3 separate regions of the Homo sapiens genome follow, and regions 1 and 2 are each linked to region 3. Evidence: promoter capture Hi-C in human tissues and cell types (Jung and others, 2019). All regions are on one chromosome and are shown on one strand. The core of a region is centred on a gene start or on the middle of the fragment in contact, and the rest is flanking DNA. Distances in the headings are between cores, read along the strand shown. Region 1 holds the start of LOC105371280 (a long non-coding RNA gene). Region 2 has its middle 85 kb from the start of CES1. Region 3 holds the start of CES1 (carboxylesterase 1).

Region 1 (3,338 bases), core at 273-2,772, 110 kb before region 3:
AACAGCATGGGTGCAAAAAAAAAATCTACATTAAAACCCTTTGTTGGAATGCTTTACACTTTCCACAGAACAGAAACTAAAATAACCTGTTATACAATTAGTCACAAATACAGTCCTTGAGTTTTTTGCCCATACACATGAGTATTTGTCTAAAACATGTCTTCTTTGTAGCAGCTAGGCCCTGCCACCACTGTGCTTGGCTGAGTTCACAAATCTGTCGTAACCTGTAGCTTCCCTGTCACTTCTCTGGCTCTCCTCTCCTGCTAAGCTTTGTTTCCTAATTAAAATCTTCAATGAACAAAACTTCCAAGAAGTATGTAAAGAGACCAAATCTGCAATTCATTGGCATTCCTGAGAGAAAAAAAGAGAATAAGCAACCTTGCAAAATATATGTGGGGATATAGTCCATGAAAGTTTCTCTAATCTCACTAGAGAGGTTAACATGCAAATTCGGGAAATACAGAGAACTCGCTAGATGCTATACAACATGACCATCCTCAAGGAACATAGTCATCAGATTCACGAACATCAACCCAAAAGAAAAAATCTTAAAGGCAGCTAGAGAGAAGGGTCAAGTCACATACAGAGAGAACCCCATCAGGCTAGCAGCAGACCTATCAGCAGAAATCTTACACCTCAGAAGATATTGGGGGTCTATTTTTAGTGTCCTTAAAGGAAAGAAATTTCAACCAAGAATTCATATTCCTTCAAACTAAGCTTCATAAGTGAAGTAGAAATAAAATCCTTCTCAGATAAGCAAATGCTGAGGGACATTGTTTCAACTAAACCAGCCTTACAAGAGGTCATTAAGGGAGTGCTAAACATGGAATCAAAAGAGTGATACTTGTTACCACAAAAACACACTAAGAATATAGCCCGCAGGTACTATAAAGCAACTACACAACCAAGTCTACATAACAACAAGCTAGCAACACAGTCACAGGCTCAAAATCTCATATACCTATTCTAACCCTGAATGTAAATGGGCTAAATGCCTCCACTTAAAAGATATAGAGTGGCAAGCCAGATAAAAAGACAAGACCCAACCATCTGCTGTCTTCAAGAGACTCATCTCACATGTAATGACACCCACAGGTTCAAAGTAAAGGGATGGAGAAATATCTACCATGCAAATGGAAAACTAAAAAGAACCAGTCACTATTTTTATGTCAGATAAAATAGATGTTAAACCGATTTCTATTAAGAAGGACAAAGAAGGGTATTACGTTATGCTAAAATGTACACTTCAACAAGAAAAATTAACTATCCTAAATATATACACACCCAACATTGGAGCACCCCAATTCATGAAACAATTCTTCTTGGACTACAAAAAGACTTAGATAACCACACAATAAGAGTGGGAGTCTTCAACATTCCACTGACAGCATTAGACAGATCATTGAGGCAGAAAACAAACGAAGAAACTCTAGACTTAAACTTGACTCTTGGCCAGTTAGACCTAATAGACATCTATAGAACACTCCACCAAACAATGGCAGAACAAATACTCTTCTCACCTGCACACAGAGTTCCGCTGTTGTCGTCCAGGCTGGAGTGCAATGGTGCGATCTTGGCTCACTGCAACCTCCGCTTCCCAGGTTCAAGTGATTCTTCTGCCTCAGCCTCCTGAGTATCTCTGGGATTATGACACCCATCATCACGGCTGGCTAATTTTGTTTTTTTGTTTGTTTGTTTGTTTGTTTGTTGTTGTTGTTGTTTGTATTTTTACTAGAGACCGGGTTTCACCACACTGGCCAGGCTGGTCTCAAACTCCTGACCTCAAAAGATCTGCCTGCCTTGGTCTCCCAAAGTGCTGGGATTACAGGTATGAGCCACCACACCTGACCACACAGAACATATTCTAAGATTAACTACACGCTCAGTCATAAAGCAAGTGTTAAAATTTTTTTTGTAAAGTTGAAATCATACCAAGCACACTCTCGGAACACAGTGCAATAAACATAAAAATATTATCAAGAACATCTCTCAAAACTGCATAAATACATGGAAATTAAACAACTTACTCCTGAATAACTCCTGGGTGAATATCAAATTTAAGGCATAAATCAAAAAATTCTTTGAAATTATTGAAAATAGGGATGCAACTTACCAAAATCTCTGGGATGCAGCTAAAGCAGTGTTAAGAGGAAAGTTTAGAGCATGAAATGCCTTCATCAAGAAGTTAGAAAGATCTCAAATTAACAATGTAAGTTTGCACCTAAAGGAACTAGAAAAAGAGAACAAACCAACCCCAAAGCTAGCAAAAGAAAACTAAAATTAGAGAAGAATTTGACACTGAGTTGCAAAAATCCATACAAATGATCAATAAAACTACAAGTTGGTTATTAGTAAAAATAAACCAGATCAATAGGCCCCTAACTAGATTAACAAAATCAAAGAAGATCCAAATAAGCACAATCAGAAATGACAAAAATGATGTTACACCTGATCCCACAGAAATATAAAAGATCCTCAGATAATATTATGAATAACTCTATGTGCACAAATTAGAAAATCTGGAGAAAATAAATAAATTCCTGGAAATAATCTCCTAAGATTGAATCAGGAAGAGATTGAAATCCTGAAGAGACTAATATGGAACTCTGAAATTGAATCAGTTACAACAACAACAAAAAAACCCTACCAATCAAAAAAAGTCCTGGATCAGATTAATTCACAGCCAAATTCTACCACATGTACAAAGAAGAACTGAGACCAATTCTACTGAAACTATTCCAAGAAAATCCAAGAGGAGGGACTCCTCTCTAACTCATTCTATGAAGCCAGCATCAGCCTAATGCCAAAATCTGGAAGAGTCACAATGAAAAAAAAAAACTTCTGGCTAATATCCCTGATGAACATAGACACAAAAATCCTCAACAAAATACCAGGAAACCAAATGCAGCGGCACATCAAAATGTTAATAAACGATGATCAAGTAGGCTTCATCCCTGAGATGCAATAATTGGTTCAACAAGTACAAATCAATAAATGTGATTCACCACATAAACAGAATTTAAAGCAAAAACAATATGTTCATCTCAATAGACAAAGAAAGAATTTCTTATAAAATCTGACATCCTTTCATGTTAAAAACCCTCAACAGACTCAGCATTAAAGGAGCACATCTCAAAACAATAAAAGCCATCTATGACAAACCCACAGCCAACATCATACTGAATGGGCAAATCTGGAAGCATTCCCCTTGAGATATGGAACAAGACATAAATGCCAACTCTCACCACTCCTATTAAACATAGCCCTGGAAGTCCTAACTAGAGCAATCAGGCAAGAAAAAGAAATAAAAGGCATCTAAACAGGAAAAGAAGAAGTCA
Region 2 (3,040 bases), core at 371-2,870, 85 kb before region 3:
CTGAGCTTTCCTGTGACTCTGTTTCTCTACTGTGCTGACAGCCAGAGGTTTCCTGCAGAGTTGGAGACCTTGGTAGCCTCCAGGTGTGTGTCTGGCAACATGAACTGTGCATGAATCCTTGTCTTCTCAGATGCTGGAGCACCCACCTACATGTATGAGTTTCAGTACCGTCCAAGCTTCTCATCAGACATGAAACCCAAGACGGTGATAGGAGACCACGGGGATGAGCTCTTCTCCGTCCTTGGGGCCCCATCTTTAAAAGGTAATGGCTCCTTGCTCTCCGTGAGCTTGGAGTTAGGAGATCTGGGTTCCTGTCTTGGTGTGGTGGCTTTCAGCAAGTTTCTTCTCTCCTGGTCTTAGTTTACTGATTCTCTATAACAGGGTTGAATGTCACTGGGTTGTCCCCCAGCTTCCTCCCACTCTAACATATGTGAGGCGGGATGTGTATTCATGTGCCCTTTGCACAGCCACTCAGAATCCTGCTCTGTGACATCAACAAGACGGGTGTGTGTGGGGGAGTCTTCTGAAGGATTCACTATACAGGGTTGAATGTCATTAGGTTGTCCCCCAGCTTCCTCCTGCTCTAATACACATGACGGGGGATGTGTATCCATGTACCCTCTGCACAGAAACTCAGAATCCTGGCCTGTGACATCAACAAGACAGGCGGGAGGGTGTCTTCTGCAGGATTCAGTATGACAGAGTTGAATGTCATCGGGTTGTCCCCCCACCTCCTCCCGCTCTAACATACCTGAGGGAGGATGTGTATTCATGTGCCCTCTGCACAGGCGTTCAGAATCCTGTTCTGTGACATCAACAAGACAAGTGTTTGGGGGGTCTCCTGCAGGATTCACTATGACAGGGTTGAATGTCATTGGGTTGTCCCCCAGCTTCTTCCTGCTCTAATACACATTAGGGAGGATGTGCATCCATGTACCCTCTGCCACAGACACTCAGAATCCTGGGCTATGTCATCAACAAGACAGGTGGTGGGACACATGCAGGGGTGCTCTAGGTTGAGAAGCCACCAATCAATTTCCCTCTCCCAGGAGCGCTGAGAATGTGAGTGAGGGTGAGATTAGAGTTGGTGTTAACCCTGAGTCAGGTCTAATGTGTGTCGGTTTGTCTTTCTGTCTGTCTCTAACAAAAACTCATAAACCTTTACATTTAATACATTTAATAATTGTTAGTTTAGAAATCACAGGATTATGAATTATGGTTTATAGTCAGCAGGATTCACTGTGATAGGATTGAATGTCATTGGCTTGTCCCCCAGTTTCCTCCTGCTCTAACACACATGAGGGAGGATGTATATCATGTGCCCTCTGCCACCGACACTCAGAATCCTGGGCCGTGTCATCAACAAGATAGGCGGAGGGACACATGCAGGGCCCTGCTCTAGGTTGAGAAACCACCAACCAATTTCCCTCTCCCAGAAGTGCTGAGAATATGAGTGAGGGTGAGATTAGAATTGGTGTTAACCCTGAGTCAGGTCTAATGTGTGTCGGTTTGTGTTTCTGCCTTTATGTCTCTAACAAAACCTCATAAACCTTTAAATTTAATATAATTAATAATTGTTAATTTAGAAATCACAGGATGTATGAATTTGGAATGGGAGAGGAGACTTTATTTTTGATGTGGTTTATAGTCAGCAAAGTTGCTATCCCTCAAGCTGGGAAGGTGCCTCTGGCCAAGCCCAGAAACAGGCTCATCGAACGAGGAGGGGTTGGGTAGAAGCTTTATATGAACAGATTGGCTAAACATACATGTTCAACACGTTACAGGGGGAGCAATGGATATTCATGAAGACAGTCCTGACACATGTGTATTAAACAAACATGCATGTAACATTGCCCATGTTCACCTGGTGGTGGAGACCTAATATTTAAATGTATTACAATTAGGGCTTATAAATCCAAGGGTCTTCTCAGGACACAAAGCCCAGCAAGTGAGCAGCCTCTGTACACCGGCCAGGTCCAGTCCATGGCTGGTGATATTCTTATCTGGAGAAAATAACTGAAATCAGTCTCTTATGCAATCAAAGCCGTAGTTAAGGCTGGTGGGCAGTGTTCTGTTCTTCCGAGTATCCAAGCTGCAGCCATTTTAATTGTTTTCATTTTGCTTAACTCCAGGCCAGTACTGGTTTAGCTGTAGACAAAAAGAAGCACCTTGCAGCAGGGAGAACAGAGTGGATTCTTTAAGGGTAGAGATGCAGGCCTGAACCCTTGCCCGGCATGGCCTTCGATCTTTTTTTAATTTGGTGTCTTATTGCCACAAGGAGTGTGTTCTGTCAGAATGATCACCTTTATTTTATTGCTGATACTCGTCCGGTGGTGTCTAAACCACAAAAAAGGGGGAGTATGATGAGGCGTGTCTGACCTCCTGTCTGTTTCCAGGCAGGAACTCAGTTTAGGGTTTTTCTGGGGTCCCCTTAGCCCAGAGAGGGTCTGTTCAGTGAGTTGGGGGTGTTAGGATTTTATTTTTAGTTTACATTATACAATATTTTTAAAAATCCTTTCATGATGTCTTCTAAGCCTTAACTCTCAGCTGTTACAGATCACATGGGACTCACCCCATGGCTGCTCAGGACGCACCATCGCCACTGGGCATGTCCCAATTATGCACCCTTAGGAGGCTTGAGTTCTGTTATATTTCAGAATGTGAATTGTGGGTGTGTGCAAGAGAGAGCAACCCTGGGAGGTGGGGCAAGCACATGGAATGATGCATGCCCATTGCTGAGCCCTAGGTCAGCCATGCTTAAAGGTAAAGTACACACAAATCCACCAGGATCTTCTAAATGTGCAGACCTCAGCTCAGTGGGTGTGGAGCATGCGCCAAGACTATGTTTCTAGCAGGTTTGCACGTGAAGTTGACAATGCAGGTCCGCGGACCACACTTTGAGTAACAAAGGCTTTTTTTCTTCTTCCCCACAGAGGGTGCCTCAGAAGAGGAGATCAGACTTAGCAAGATGGTGATGAAATTCTGGGCCAACTTTGCTCGCAATGGGTGAGGCTCTTGGCAAAGACACAGCACAGCTGGT
Region 3 (3,065 bases), core at 22-2,521:
TTTCGGGTTGACCCTGGGCAAGTACATTTCCCTGTGTGAGTCTCAGTTTCTCTGTCTATAAAATGGCATGGGGGTATTTCGAGGCCCCTCGCTGCACCCCTCTATGTACCATGTGTTTTGCTTTCTGTATTCTGATGCTCTGGCATCTGAGGCCTTGTTGACCTTGGAGAAACTCCCTCCCAGGGTCCAGCCACCCCAGAGCCCACACCCCAACTGCCTCTTTGATCGGGTTGCCATGCCCTGGCCACTACCCACCTGCCCTAATCATGCCAGGGCTAGGTACAAAACAATTAGGAACAGCCCCTGTGCCCCAGAGCCCCTGAAGTATCCCAACTTGCCAGTCCTCAGCCTGCCTGCCCTGCCTTTCCTCTTCTATCCTTGGAAGCCACAGTAAAAGCCCCTTGGCCTCAGATCCGCCCTGTCCCCTCCCCAGGCTCTGCTGCTTCCCCTTGTGCCCCGCGCACTGGTGTCCCCCTCCTGTTGAGAACATGAGTAAGAAACTGTCTTTTTAATGGCAAGAGGTCCTGATATAGTGGCCTGACCACAGCTCAAATTTTCTATTCATACACTACGTTTTTAAACAGCGCCTTTATTTATCCATCCCTTTTTCGTGCTTTCTACATACCAGGCGCTGCCAAGAGTGCTTTAGAAACAGCCACCCATTTCCTCCTCACCAAAGCCCAGTGAGGTAGGCAGCACTGCCACCTCTGTTTCAGAGAGGGGGTAACCCAAGCACGGAATAGCGCAGTCCCTTGCCTAAGGACACACAGCGAGGAAGCGCCCAGCGGGGACTCGAACCCACGCACTCTGGCTCCAGAGTCGATGCTCTTAATATTATGTTGAGCCGCTCTCCGTGATCCAGCCGTAAGGGGACTAATTAAGGGACAGCAAACTGAGCTGCCTAAATTTCTCGTGTGTGCGGCCTGAGGTGGGCCGGCTGTCGGCCTGCATTTGGGCGAGCAGTACAGGGCGATCTCAGGATGTTCACCCTCCCTGCGTCTCCGCGCGGGCCAGGCTGGCCGGGCTCAGCTGCTCCAAGTCCAAGTCCTAATATGGAAGTCGTGCCCCGCCGCAGAGCCGGACCTGTTGTGTCTTTGCCTTTCTACGCATCTGCGCCCACCTCGGCCCAGAACAAGGATTTCAAAAAGTGCCCCGCATTTTGATTTCAGAAGGACTCACCCCAAGCCGCGGAAGCAGAGAGAGTGGCCAGGATAAAGGCACGGAGCCACATCGTGGAAGGGCGACAGTTCTCGGGGCCTGCGAGGTCTCTGTGCAGTTCAGAGGGACTGTGCTGTCCAGCCCTGGAGCCCAGCCCCGCCCAGAGTTACCGCCCTGCGCTGCCAATTGCCTAATCCTCTAATTGGGAGAGATCAGAAAAGCCCTCCCTTTCCTCAGATCTCCCTGGGCTTCTAGTGGGGCCTCAGGCCACGCCCACCCACAGTTTACCCTCTTTCATCAAACCAGTCTGGACTCTACTGTCAGATTACAGAGAGCTGTAAACTTGCCCAACTACTTGTTACATAAGGGTTCACCCTTGCAGGACTCTAACCTCAGTGCACTGTGACGGCCCCCAAGGGCCCACACCAGCAGGCAGATGCTTTTAGGCAAAGGGAAGCTTTGATCTGAGGTCCTCAGAAACAACTGGAAAATGTTAGAGCCACTCACACCTCACAGCTCAGCTGGGTAAGTTAGGACATATCTCAGCTCCCAGGGCTTGTGTTTTCATAGCTTTCCAGGCTCTCAAGCTTGGAAGCGATCTTAAATTTCATCGAGTCCCCTTTCTGAGGCCTGAATTAGCTTCACAATATCCTGCCAACTGGTCCAGCCTCCTGTCACACACCATCGGTGTCAGAGAACTCACTACTTTCCAAAGCAGGGATTTTTGGACAGAATGTAAAAATGAACTCCGTCCCCCCATAGTCCCTGGCTGTTATCATCCATCCATCCAAGTACCCATCCATTTTGTGAACATTTACCAAAATGCTTGGCACCTGGCCATGTATAATGGATACAAAGACCAATTCAAGACATGGTTCAGCTTCTCAAGGGGCTCACCATTGTAGACAAGACAGATGGGGTGGAGGAGCAGTAGGGGTGATGTCAAGGCAATGTGAAATCACCAAATTAAGGGGATACAGAGTGCTCTGGGCACACCTGGAAAACTGTCATTTACAAGCTGCTGGGGACACAAGGAAGTCACTCAAAGCCTCTTTCATGGGATTATTAAATGTCCAACAATAGGGAATTCACTAAACACACTGTGGTACCGCTGGCTAAGGAAATACGATGTATTCACTCAAAATAGTGATGTGCACAGCTATTTATTAACAATGAAGACAGGATGCGTTGTGAAAGGAGAAAATAATAGGTTATAAACTGTTGTGCGGTGTAGGCAGTTCCTCAAAAAGTTCAACACAGAGTTTCCATATGACCCAGCAATTCCCCTCCTAGGTGTCTACCGAAGAGAACTGAAAGCATGTCCACACAAAAGCTTGTACACAAAGAGCAGTGTCATTCATCCTAGTCAAAAAGTGGGCACAACCCGCATGTCCATGACCTGATGAATGTGTAAATGAAGTGTGGTGTATGCGTGCAGAGGCATATCATCCAGCCATAAGAAGAACATGCTACAACGTGGATGAAGCTGGAAAACATCATGGTAAAGGAAAGAAGCCAGCCACAAAAGGCCACATGTCGTATGATGCTTTTTATATGTAATTTCCAAAATAGTCAAATCCATGGAGACAGAAAGTGTTTGACAGGGTCTGGGGAAGGGGAAAGAGACGGGGATGAGGAGTGACTGCTAATGGGCATGAGTTTTATCTTGGGGGTGGTAAAAATGTCCTGGGATTAAATAGTGATGATGTTAGTGCAACTTTGGGAATATACTAAACACCACTAGATTGTACACTTTAAAAAGGTAAACTTTATGACATGTGACTTATATTTCAATAAAATAATGAAATATTTTTGAAAATCTAGATAGGTATAATATGGTCCCGTTTTGGTAGTAACATATGTCTTTATTTGCATAGGAAAATACTGGAAGTCTATATATCTAATTA

What was found. Contacts are between HindIII fragments. The study calls those that stand out against the background at their distance.
Region 1: a contact is called between a fragment that was not itself captured here and the fragment with the promoter of CES1 in region 3, in 3 of the 25 tissues and cell types used here (bladder, liver and spleen).
Region 2: a fragment that was not itself captured here is called in contact with the fragment with the promoter of CES1 in region 3 in 4 of the 25 tissues and cell types used here (liver, mesenchymal stem cells, spleen and 1 more).

Annotation. Positions count from the first base shown.
Region 1 is chr16:55,720,165-55,723,502 of GRCh38, forward strand. It overlaps LOC105371280 (a long non-coding RNA gene), which reads right to left and starts at 1,672. Exons shown (of 3, transcript XR_933605.1): 1 at 1,521-1,672. The HindIII fragment of the contact is 3,146 bases long and covers 1-3,095 here.
Region 2 is chr16:55,746,628-55,749,667 of GRCh38, forward strand. It overlaps the pseudogene CES1P2. Among named protein-coding and RNA genes, the nearest start is that of CES1, 85 kb to the right of the region's middle. The HindIII fragment of the contact is 6,048 bases long and covers 1-3,040 here.
Region 3 is chr16:55,831,825-55,834,889 of GRCh38, forward strand. It overlaps CES1 (carboxylesterase 1), which reads right to left and starts at 1,272. Exons shown (of 14, transcript NM_001025195.2): 1 at 1,180-1,272. The coding sequence starts at 1,231. The HindIII fragment of the contact is 6,998 bases long and covers 1-2,118 here.